Regions from separate parts of the Homo sapiens genome. Here all the other regions are linked to region 1. Evidence: promoter capture Hi-C in 16 types of primary human blood cells and fetal thymus (Javierre and others, 2016). All regions are on one chromosome and are shown on one strand. The core of a region is centred on a gene start or on the middle of the fragment in contact, and the rest is flanking DNA. Distances in the headings are between cores, read along the strand shown. Region 1 holds the start of MON2-AS1 (MON2 antisense RNA 1). Region 2 has its middle 32 kb from the start of MIRLET7I. Region 3 overlaps MIRLET7IHG (MIRLET7I host gene).

Region 1 (3,957 bases), core at 429-2,928:
GCCTCTGATTTTCAAGATGATAGTGGTCTATAAATCTACAACTTTTAGGTATAATTGCTTTAAATACTTCAGAAAAAATACTAGGATAAAGTTTAAGTGCAAATATACCTCCTCAAGTATATGGGCTCTGGATACTACGAAGATTAAAACATGACTATTAATTGTATTTGCACCAGATCTGTTCTAACTTGATTTGAATAATGCAAATTGAATTAAAATGAAATTAACAGCCTGCCTATATATTTAAATCATACCGACTAAGTCAAAATTTTTCTTACTCATCTTAAGAGTAATTTATTAGACATTTTACTTGGGATAGAATGCTGGAATAACAGTGATCCTCTGAGGAAATCAGTCTTTTTTTAAAAAAAGTCTTCCACAAACTATAAAACCAATAAAAATTTGTATTATTGGAGAATAATTAAGGACTTACCACGGTATCAACAATGATATTAGCAACAGTAAATATTTTAAATATTTACAGTGATATTCTAATACGATTGGCCTATGGTAAGTCTCCAACATAAAAATATCCAGGTCATCATTTTTCTTTAAACACCAATTTCCCCACAGTAGCTAATCTGCCTAATGTACATCTCCCATTAAAACCCACATGCTGGCCGGGCGCAGTGGCTCACGCCTGTAATCCCAACACTTGGAGAGGCCGAGGCGGGAGAACCCCGAGGTCAGGAGTTCGAGACCAGCCTAGCCAACATGATGAAACCCTGTCTCTACTAAAAATACAAAAATTAGCCAGATGTGGTGTTGGGCACCTGAAATCTCAGCTACTCGGGTGGCTGAGGCAGGAGAATCGCTTGAACCCAGGAGGCAGAGGTTGCAGTAAGCCGAGACCACACCATTGCACTCCAGCTGGGATAACAAGAGCAAAAGTCCATCTCAGGAAAAACAAACAGACAAACAAAAAAAACCCACTTGCCAGCCTTCCTAACCCTACCATGTGCACCTCTGCCTTTACCCACCACTTTCACTATACCACTTCTCAATATGCACACAGAGCATTATTTACTTCTGTGCATAATGTTATAAAACTATTGGGTGTTTTGATAAGACTGTTCAAAATCAGGGAAAAAGCTGTGGGAAACAGATGTAATTGAGGAGCGCTTATGCTAAGGGCAAATTTCCAGCAAAGCTGGATAGCCTAAGTGAAATCCACTCTTGCCCCCGATCCTTAATCTGACCCCAAAAATCTTAATTTCATTTCATAACACTCTGAAATCCCACCAGTTACAGATTTACTGGTATCCCTTTTAAAAAATGTAAAGTATATGAAAGTTAAAGAGATTATTTACTATTTGGACTCTGTAAATTAATTTAATAGGACTACTTTCCTCATAGATTAGCTGAGATCAACAGCACTACTGGAACTGGAAATGCAGATTAAAGGATCACTGAAGCAAGCACTGGTTACATATGTAATACTTGGGAGTAAGTGGCTAACGTGGAAACCTGGTGATACCATGGTAGCACACTGTAGCAGGAAGAACATGGGCTCCTGAACACTCCTGGATTTTAATCTGGTTCTATCACCTTTCCTGTGACCTTGGGCAAGTAACTTAACCTCTTCACATCTCAATTAGCTCTACTATCAAATAAGATAATATTTCCCCACAAGGTTGTTATGTAAGATAGAATGACACAAGTGCCTTGCATATAACAGATTCTTAAAAAAAAAAAAAAAAAAAAGCCAGTTTACCTCTTTTCCATGTTCATTATTGAGGCAAGAACAAAAGGCACCAAGGAAGAGAAAGGAGTGGACTGGGTAGAAAAGAAGGATGCCAAAGAGAAACTCCTGAAAATTCCTCCTTGAAAATCAGGTTCAATCAAGAGAAGGTAAGAAAACATTTTTGTTTTCTTTTCTCTACTTCACTCTCATTCTTTTTTCATGATCATACTGCCTTAATCCCAAGACTCAAAATTCATACGGTACAACTAAATACAGAAGACTATGTTATGAACTGTTCGTATTATATTAAAGAGAAAGTAGATCACAGAAGGTGGACTGAGAACAAATCTTTCATTCAATACAATGGAACAAATATTACTGAATGCTTTTTATGGTGTGTCTCAGGTGATTAGCAGGAAGTGGAGGAGAATGCGAAGATGAGTAAGAAAAAATTCCTTGCCTTTAAGGAGTCAGTAGTGTTAAGCTTTCTGATTTCAGAGAATTTTTGTAGCATTCGTCTCTGGGAAATACAGTCAGTTCATAAGTTATGGACTTTTGCCCATTCTGTTTCATTATGAATAGCATATGTTAGGGCATGAGGAAGAGATGTTACAGAAAACTGATGGCTTTTACAATAAAGATTCTACTTTTACTATTAGTCAAATTTTTGTTTATTATTAAATTTTTAATACAAAAAATTACCTGCCAAAATTTCAGTGTTTCGTGCAGCAATTGTTTTAACTTTTATTATTCCTGATTCAGCAGCCTGCAAGAATAAAAATAATTAGAACACAAAATTTACTGCCAAAATGAATTATCTATGGAAAATAAGTCATATGTGATAGACAAAATATCAAGCACAAAGTCAGTCACTACCCTACCACCTTTTTAATTTTCAAACCATCAGATACTAAGCCCAGTAGTGACATATACGTTAAATGTAATAAAACATGATTAATTTGATTATTCACATGCAAACTCTGAATGCACTACAACATGTTGCCTTCCTCTGCCTTAAGGCATTATCTGGAATACCTCAATCCCCTGCAAAGTTAAATTTTCCGAGAATAAAAATAACAAACAAAAACAAAATCTACTGAAAATAATTAGGCTCCTTTTCCCCATTTCAAGCCTCCTCTCTCTCCACCACACACAAAAAAATTATAGAACACTGCAAAATCAAGTAAAACTACTGTGTTGGATTTATTTATTTATTGTTGATGGAGTTTTTTGCTCTTGTTGCCCAGGCTGGAGTCCAATGGCACGATCTTGGCTCACTACAACCTCCGCCTCCCTGGTTCAAGCCATTCTCCTGCCTCAGCCTCCCAAGTAGCTGGGATTACAGGCACCCACCACCATGCCTGGCTAATTTTTGTATTTTTAGTAGAGTGTTTTATTTTTGTACTTTTTGTATTTTTAGTTGGCCAGGCTGGTCTTGAACTCCTGACCTCAAGTGATCCACCCATCTCAGCCTCCCAAAGTGCCAGGATTACAGGCATGGGCCACCGTGCCCAGACCTGTGTTGGATTTTAAAAGCTACTTTGTTTTCTTTTTTGAGAATGGATAACCAAACACTTCATTAACCGTAGTATGTTTAGCGGGCAGTACTGGCAAGTCACATAGTATTTTACAGAATGCCACAGAACTGCACTGTCCAATTTGGTAGCCATTTGGCTACATGTGGCTATTAAGCACTTGAAATGTGGCCAGTCTGAATTGAGCTATGCTCTAAGTGTAAAATATATACTAGGTTTTGAAGACTTAGTATTAAAAAAAAGAATATAACCTATCCCCTAAATATTTATACTGACTACATGTTGAAATAATATTTCAAATTATTACGTTAAATTATTATTAAAATTAAATGTCTGTTTCTTTTTACTTTTTTTCCCCTTTTTTTTAGAGACAGGATCTTGCTGTACTGCCCAGCCTGGAGTGCAATGCCACAATCATGGCTTACAGCAGCCTCAAACTACTGGGCTCAAGTGATCCTTCCACCACCGTCTTCCAAGGAGCTGGTACTATAGGTACATGCCACCATGTCCAGCTAATTTTTCAATTTTTTTGGTAGAGACAGGGCCTTGCTATATTGCCTAGGCTAGTCTTGAACTACTGGCCTCAACCGATCCTCCCACCTCAGCCTCCCAAAGTGCTAAGATTACAAGCATGAGCCACTGCACCTGGCTTCTTTTTACTTTTTAATGCAGTTAAAAATTACGTATATGTATTACATCTGTAGCCCACATTATAATTCCATTGAAGAGTGCTGAGAT
Region 2 (3,957 bases), core at 696-3,195, 150 kb before region 1:
GGAGAAGAAAAGAATTAGAAACAAAATACATTTCTACTGCCTTTTATGGTTTCTGTGTATTTACCTTTACCAGCATCCTTTATTTCTTCATGTGGATTCAAGTTATTCCCTAGTGTCCCTTCATTTTAGCCTGAAGGACTCCCCTTAGTATTTCTTGTAGGCCAGGTATATGGCTCATGCCTGTAATCCCAGCACTTTGGGAGGCCAAGGTGGGAGGATCACTTGAGGCCAGGAGTTCAAGACCAACCTGGACAACATAGTGAAACCCCATGTCTACAAAAAACTTAGCCAGTGTGGTGGCTCATGCCTGTAATCCCAGCACTTTGGGAGGCCAAGATGGGTGGATCACTTGAGCTCAGAAGTTTGAGACCAGCCTGGACAACATATCAAATCCCCATCTCCACAAAAAAATACAAAAATTAGCCGGATGTGGCGTCATGTACCTGTAGTCCCAGCTACTTGGGAGGCTGAGGCAGAAGGATCGCTTGAGCCGGGGAGACGGAGGTTGCAGTGAGCAGAGATCATGCCTGCACTTCAGCCTGTGTGATAGAACGAGACTCTGTCTCAAAAAAAAAAAAAAGTTTACAAATAAACCGGGTGTGCACCTGTAGTCCTGGCTGCGTGAAAGGGTGAAGTAGGAGGATCACTGAACCCAAGAGTCTGAGGCTGCAGTGACCCATGATCACACCACTGTGCTCCAGCCTGGGCAGCAGAGTGAGACCCTGTCTCCAAAAAAAAAAAAAAAAAAAAAAAAGCATTTCTTGTAAACAGGTCTGCTAGGGCTGCAAACCTATTCTGCCTCACTGTTGGCTGCTAGTCTGCTGGTACTCAGAGCTGTCATGGTTGAGAAGCTGTTAGTGTTCAAGCCTACCACAGATCTGGAAAGAAGGGTAAGGAGATTGGTCAAGTAAAAATGTTACATACAGGTGAGGTGTCACATGCCTGTAATCCCGACTATTCAAAGATGCTGAGGTGAGAAGATCGCTTGAGCCCAGGAGTTTGAGACCAGCCTGAGCAACTTTAGAGGCAAAGTCTTGCCTCTAAAAATAAAAAATAAAAATTAGCTGGGCATGGTGGCACGCACCTGTAGTCCCACCTACTCAGAAGACTGAAGTGGGAGGATCGTTTGAGGCTGCAGTGAGCTATGATTGCACCACTGCACTCCAGCCTGGGTGACAGAGACCCTGTCTCTTTAAAACTAAATGTCACAAAGCTCCCTATTTTTACTGAGGTTCAGCCATTTTTCTTGAATACACATTCCTCAGATTGTTGCAGTCCTTTGGTTAATTTCCAGAGTTCTGAAAAAGTTGGTTCTGGCAATTTTTGCCAGAATTTTCTTTGTATGGAGGAGTAGATTTTCAGAGGTTTTTATTCTGCCATTCTGAAAGCCCTTTTCCACATGAAAAAATAAAAGTTCAGGTAGGTAAAGTAGTTTCCCATGGACACAGTGCCAAGTAGCACCAAAGCCAATATTTCAAATCTAAAGCTTATATGTAGTCGACACCCAACTGCCAATTACCACTCCAGTTTTCTGTAACTTCTCATTAGATAATAAGGGCTAGTCACAAAACCTCCATTGTGTACACCCTTATTTGGATGGCATTTTTAACAAAGCCCTTTCACATTGAATCCCCATCCCTGAACTTTGCACTGAGACATACTAACTAATCAATGTCATCTGCTGACCCACCAGCACCATTTTCTATAAAATGTGTTTTTGTCACAGGCATCTTATTTTCCTCTCATCTAGTTTTGACTCTTGCTCAGCTGTAGCTCTGCCAACAGCTCCTTAGCATGCACTATGAAGGTGTATGTTGTCAAGGCTTGTCTTCATGGTGACATTGAGTACCAGACCCCATTATAAGGCCCTTACACAAGCAGAATGAATGGTGTGTTACCCCACGGGTTTTAACCATAGTACCTGAATCTTCCAACTTTTCAGTAAATAGTGAGGAGCAAGTAAGATTTGGCTCTCTATAAATGCCAACTAATAGTCAAAAAGGACAGATAGTCAGGGTCTGGAAGAACTGAACGAAATTATGTTCAAATCCTCTTGAACTAGAAGTATGCTTAAAACAGATCCTACATTCTTGAGCAGTGGTCTGTAATAAAAGTAATGGTAAAAGGTAAATCTTTTACCAGGGTGCCCAGTTGCACTATTTGTTATAAAACCGAATGTGTCTGGATGGAAAGTCATTTGCTGTGGTGGTATCAATATTACAGCTCTTGACATCTCTCTCTATGGGCTCAGTTGACCTGAAATAAGATGACCATTTCACATACTAACAGGGCATTTTTCGATGATCTGTTTGACCTTTGCCTCTGGGCTCAGCAATAAGAGGAGTAATAAGATGACATTTTTAGCAGAACAAAGGAACAAGAAACCCAAAGAATTTAAGCTTAAGGGAGCTTAAATACAACAATGAAATAGCTGTGAACATTTAGTTAATACCTGTCCCTTCCTGCAGTGCTTCTGTAGCTTGGCTGCATGTTAACATCACCTGGGAGCATTAAAAAAACCCTGTCTACCAGGTCAGACCTCAGACCAATTAAATCAGAATCCCCCAGGGAGGGACCCAATCATCAGTATCTTTTGAATGTTTTGGCCAGGCACGGTGGCTCACGCCTGTAATCCCAGCACTTTGGGAGGCCGAGGCGGGCGGATCACCTGAGGTCAGGATTTCAAGACCAGCCTGACCAACATGGAGAAACCCGTCTCTACTAAAAATACAAAATTAGCCAGGTGTGGTGGCACGTGCCTGTAATTGCAGCTACTTGGGAGGCTGAAGCAGGAGAATCGATTGAACCCAGGAAGTGGAGGTTGCGGTGAGCCGAGATCACACCACTACACTCCAGCCTGGGCAACAAGAGCGAAACTCCATCTCAAAAAAAAAAAGTTTTCTAGCTGATTCTAAGGTGAGAAACACTGTGTAAAGATACTAAGGACACACCTCTAAAGTAACGTTTGCAGACTTATCAGACAAAAGATACAGGACATCTACTTGGATTTGAATTTCAGATAAAGAATTTTTTAAATTAAGTATGTCCCTTGCAATATTTGGGTTGTACTCATACTAAAAAACTACTATCATCTGACATTCAAATTTAAATGGGTGTCTTCTATTTTATCTGGGAATCTTACACAGGACAAAACTGAAAAATCAAACAAGAGGGGTAGAAATAAAGACTCAGCAACAGGGAAATTTCACTGGGTATAGGTTCCTGTCTCAAAGAACAAGAACACCTGGAATATAACAAAAAGAAAAGTTGTGCCAGGCCAGTACCATCCTGAGGGAGAGTTCCCAGGTCACGGAGGAGGAGGGAGGACTTCAGGACTGACTTCTGGACAGACCTCCTTAGTACCTGTATTCGTGTGCCATAATAAAATATCACGGACTGGGTGGCTAAGGTGCCAGCAGGTTCAGTTTCTCCTGAGGCTTCTTTGGTTGGCTTGCAGATCGCCTCCCTCTCGTCATGTCATTTCTCCGTGTAAACAAATCCTCTGTGTGTCTGAATTTCCTTTTCTTCAAAGGACACTAACCAGATTGGATTAAGGCCCACCCATGTGACCTCATTTGACCTTAATTACCTCTTTATAAAGGCCCTATCTTCAGATACAGTCACATTCTGAGATACTCGCAGTTTTGACTCTCATATAAATTTTGAACACATTTCAGCCCTAAACAGTGTCCCTCACTGGACTGGAGTCCTGAGGGGCTATGAGGCGGTTAGGTTGGTAGGGCAGTCAAGTATTATTGTTCTGATATCGTCTTCCCAGGGCCACCCCAGCCCAGCCACCCTCACCCCATCTCCTGCCATCAGGCTGTGCAAGAGAGTGACTGTGCCCCTGAGCCACCAGGGAAGGGAAAACAGTTTTGTTTGTTTTTTGTTTGTTTTTTTAGACAGAGTCTTGCTCTGTCGCCTAGGCTGGAGTGCAGTGGCGCGATCTCGGCTCAC
Region 3 (3,957 bases), core at 1,028-3,527, 130 kb before region 1:
GGTAGGAGTTCTGTTGCTGAGGCCCTGAAGTCACCAGGTTTTGTCCTCACCTCCTCAATCAACTAACTAAACAGCATTAACACCCCCAGTTTCCTGATTAGTGGTTTATCTAAAGTCCCATGAGTCAGTGGGCTCTAATTGTGAGTCTACTCTTTGTTTCTGATGTTACATCACTTCTCCTCAAAGATAGCTATATATTTACTTAGGAAGAAATTAAGAAAGTAGGCAAATAAATGAAGAAACTGAGCAAAGAAGAAAAAAATGAAAATTAGAGCACTTTTTTGTGTAAGAGGGAGTAGCTCAATTCTGTAGAACACTGAAAAAGTCATGGAACTACTGAGCTTTGTTCTGCGAAACTTGGAAACTATGATTTTCTATTATTTACTTGGCCTCTTTAGACTGCATCCTCAGAGGAAATGTATCTTTGAACTCAAATTCAGTATTTGATCAAACCATACAACTAAAAATGTTAATTAAAAACAAAGCCAAAACCAACAACAGCCTAAATATTGGGGAAAATTCCTTTTGTGAATTAAATTCACTTAGTAATAAATTCATTTTTTTAATTAAGGCTTTGCAAGCTTTCAGTTTATGAAAAGATGTTATTATTGATGGAATTCAGTTTTCCTGACAGCTTGGTATTATTTTTAAATCTAAGAATGCTCATCATTGTAGTAAGAGACATGGCCTAGTATCATGCAAAGACCTTTCCTAAGGTATGGCAAATCAGAGGATTTTCCCAGGCCCCATACAGTGCACAATGCCAAATTGTTGTTGGAATCCTTCAGAATAAGGAGTTTCTGTAATTTATCTTACACCCGTGGTAGCCAGCACATTGAGGGATCACATAGTGATAATAATAATGGTTAAATAAAGAAATGTGTATTTATATACATGTGTAAATTGACTCACAGAATCACATGAACAAATTTATTTTCTAAAGTAAAACAATTCAGGTAAAATTGTCCTCTTCTTTTCTGGTCCCCCACTCTTCAAAAACCCTCTTTCTTTTAGGCTTTCCCTTTCCACACTGTTATTGCCATTAATTTTATTTAGATTAGAAATCTGTACAAAAATGGTAGCAAAGAGGAGACAACGCATACATCTGACCTAGACTCCAAAGCTTTACAGATGGCCCATAGCATGGAGAGAAGCCAGGACAAATTTTAGCATAGTCTTCTACATTGCATCAATGTCATTACTTGAGTATCAACTTAAGGATCCTTACTCAAAATAGACTCAGGTGGCCTAGAAAAGTGCTTGAAATTTTCTGCCTATTCCATGGGGTAAACATTGAAGTTTGCTATTGTAATCATTCAAGTCAAATTTTTGTGTTAACACTGGCATTATTTATATTAGCTATGTAGTCACTCTGTGTTTTTTTATAAAAACTAAGTAGATAAGTTCAGAGTTTGGATAATGGTAAAAAGCCAGAAAATGTCTGGAACATAGAGAGAGGCCTGGGGTGGGGGTTGGAGAGGACTGTAGAGGTTAGGGACTTTGGGGAACTATAAGTCAGCATGAGGGTGCTGGATTCCATGGGTAAAGATAATACCACTGACAGGGAAAAAGAATGATAAAAGAGACTAACATTTAAAAAAAAAAATTATGTGCCAGGCAGGCCTTGTGTTAGATACTTGGCATATACAGACAAGAGAGTCACAGGAAGGAGAAGTTTTGTGCTTATTTACGGTCACTCAACCTACATTCAAATACATTTTTGTGTTGTTTTATTATATGATTTTTTAAGTTACAAAAAAAAAAAAGAGGGAAGAAGGAAAAGCAATAAGGCAAACTTGCCAATAGGTTCATGAACAAAAGTCAATTATGGAATGTGGCAGAAGGCAAATATAAATGTATTCAAAGTTTTACCTTTAACAATTACACTTGTGGTTCCAGTTATCTGTTGATAATATAAATTACTCCGTATTTAGTGACTCAAACAACAATTTTATTTCTCTCTCATGGGTCTGGAGTTTGGCTGGATTCAGCTAGGTAGTTCTTGCTGAGGGTCATTCATGGGGTTGTCATCGGATGGTGGCTGGTGATGGAAGCATCTGAAGACTTACTAATTGCAGCCGGGCATGGTGGCTCATGCCTACAATTCCAGCACTTTGGGAGACTGAGGTAGGAGGATTACTTGAGCTTAGGAGTTCAAGACCAGCCTGGGCAACATAGTGAGAACCCATTTCGATTTATTTAAAAAAAAAAATTAAAACCAAAAAGAAATGAAGGCTTACTACTTGCATATTTGGAGCCTGGGCTGGGAAGGCTCACACATTTGGTCCTCTTCTCTCTCTCTGTGGTTCTTCCACATGGTCTTTCCAGTGTTGTGGCTTCAGGGTAGGTGGTTTTCTTCCATGGCAGCTCAGGGCTCCAAAGGCACATGTTCTGAGAAAGAACTAGGTGGCAGCTGTATCACCCCTTATTACCCTGTCTCAGAGTTCACACAGCATCCTTCTGCTGCATTTAATCACAAAGGTCCACTCATGTTCCAAAGGAAGAGACACAGATTCCACCTCTTGTTGAGAGTAGTATTAAAGAATTGGTGGACACATTTTCAAACCACCATAATCTGCTCTCAGGCCACATATTATTTACATCCTTCCCACATGCAAAATATACTCACCCCCTCCCAAGACCTTCTGAAATTCTCATTTATTAAGACATTGGGCTCAGGCTCAAGGTCCAGGACTTTATCAGTGAAATCAGGTCACGTGTGGATAAAGATACTTGTGTGTGGTCCTGTGAGTACAGCTCACGTGGCATTCCTTGAGGTCTGAAAAATCTGTCAGCTAGTGAGACAAATTATCTCTCCCTCATACCCAATATACATAGTGGAGTAGGTATGGGGTAACCATTATAAATAATCCCATTCACAAAGGGAGAAAAAAGAGGCATGTGGCGACCTCCATAGCAAGTCTATTGTCTTTCACGGTTCTGGGGCTTGACTAAGCTAATCTAGATGGTTTTCGTTGAAGGGGTCTCATGAGCTTACAGCTAGATGGTGGCTGGTGCTGGAACCATCTGAAGGCTTGCTCACTCATATATATGGCACCTGGTCTGGGAGGACTTAAATAGCTGGGATTGGGAGCAGCTGGGCTTCTTCAGACACCTCTTTCTAACTCTATGTGATTTCCCTGTGGTCTCTTCAGCATGGTAGCTTCAGGGTAGCTATTCTTACATGGCAACCCAGAGCTCTAAAATGCAGGGGCATGGGGAAGCTGTATCACCTCTTATGACCCTGTCTCAAAAGTCACATAGTGTCTTTTCTGTCATATTCTATTTGTTGAGGCAGCACAAAGGCCACTTAGGTTCAAGAAAAGGGAACACAAGACTATATTTTTTACTGAGAAGTGTCAAAGATTTTGCAGACATGTTTTTAAACCACCACAACTGGAAGAAGGAAAAAGAACAAAAAGAAAAGCTTATGAACTGTTGCTGAAAAATTATGCTATATCCTATGGCACCAAATTGGTTGGTGGTTGCAGCCACAAATCTGAGTGATGATGGACAAAAACAGGTCAAGGGTCATATTCAAATGCATGAAATTATTTCAGCTTTTTGTTCCTCAAGAAAGACCTATTTCTTACTTCACTTACTGAAAGAGAGAGAGAGAGAGACAGAGAGAGAGAAAGGGAAAGAGAGAGAGAGACCCAAATGCTCTTTCAGGAAAGCTAAGTTCTAAAATGGAGGGTCGGCAAACTATGGCCTAGAAGTCAAATCTGGCCTATGGCCTGTTTCTGTATGGCCCAAGAGCTGAGAATGATTTTATGCTTTTAAAGAGAAAGAAGAAAGAGAAGAAGAAAAAGAAGGAAGAGGAAGGGAAGAAAAGGAGGAGGAAGGTGGAGACCCAGCAGCATATGCAACAGAGGCCATCTGTGGCCCGCAAAGCTAAACATACTCTGGCCCTTTGCAGAGAAGTTGACCCCTGTTTCAAAGCACTTTCAAATGTGT

Evidence for each region. Contacts are between HindIII fragments. The CHiCAGO score rates a contact against its expected background, and 5 or more counts as called.
Region 2: a contact is called between a fragment that was not itself captured here and the fragment with the promoter of MON2-AS1 in region 1, in 1 of 17 cell types (total B cells). The highest score is 5.7, in total B cells.
Region 3: a fragment that was not itself captured here is called in contact with the fragment with the promoter of MON2-AS1 in region 1 in 3 of 17 cell types (total B cells, naive CD8 T cells and naive CD4 T cells); the score reaches 6.4 in total B cells.

The regions. Positions count from the first base shown.
Region 1 is chr12:62,482,663-62,486,619 of GRCh38, reverse strand. MON2-AS1 (MON2 antisense RNA 1) reads left to right here and starts at 1,678. Exons shown (of 2, transcript NR_186172.1): 1 at 1,678-1,851; 2 at 3,588-3,957. MON2 (MON2 regulator of endosome-to-Golgi trafficking) reads right to left here. Exons shown (of 35, transcript NM_015026.3): 2 at 2,387-2,450. The HindIII fragment of the contact is 7,471 bases long and covers 1-2,170 here.
Region 2 is chr12:62,633,515-62,637,471 of GRCh38, reverse strand. No RefSeq gene overlaps it. Among named protein-coding and RNA genes, the nearest start is that of MIRLET7I, 32 kb to the right of the region's middle. The HindIII fragment of the contact is 913 bases long and covers 1,489-2,401 here.
Region 3 is chr12:62,614,670-62,618,626 of GRCh38, reverse strand. MIRLET7IHG (MIRLET7I host gene) reads right to left here. Exons shown (of 2, transcript NR_186001.1): 2 at 1-3,957. Among named protein-coding and RNA genes, the nearest start is that of MIRLET7I, 13 kb to the right of the region's middle. The HindIII fragment of the contact is 2,304 bases long and covers 1,126-3,429 here.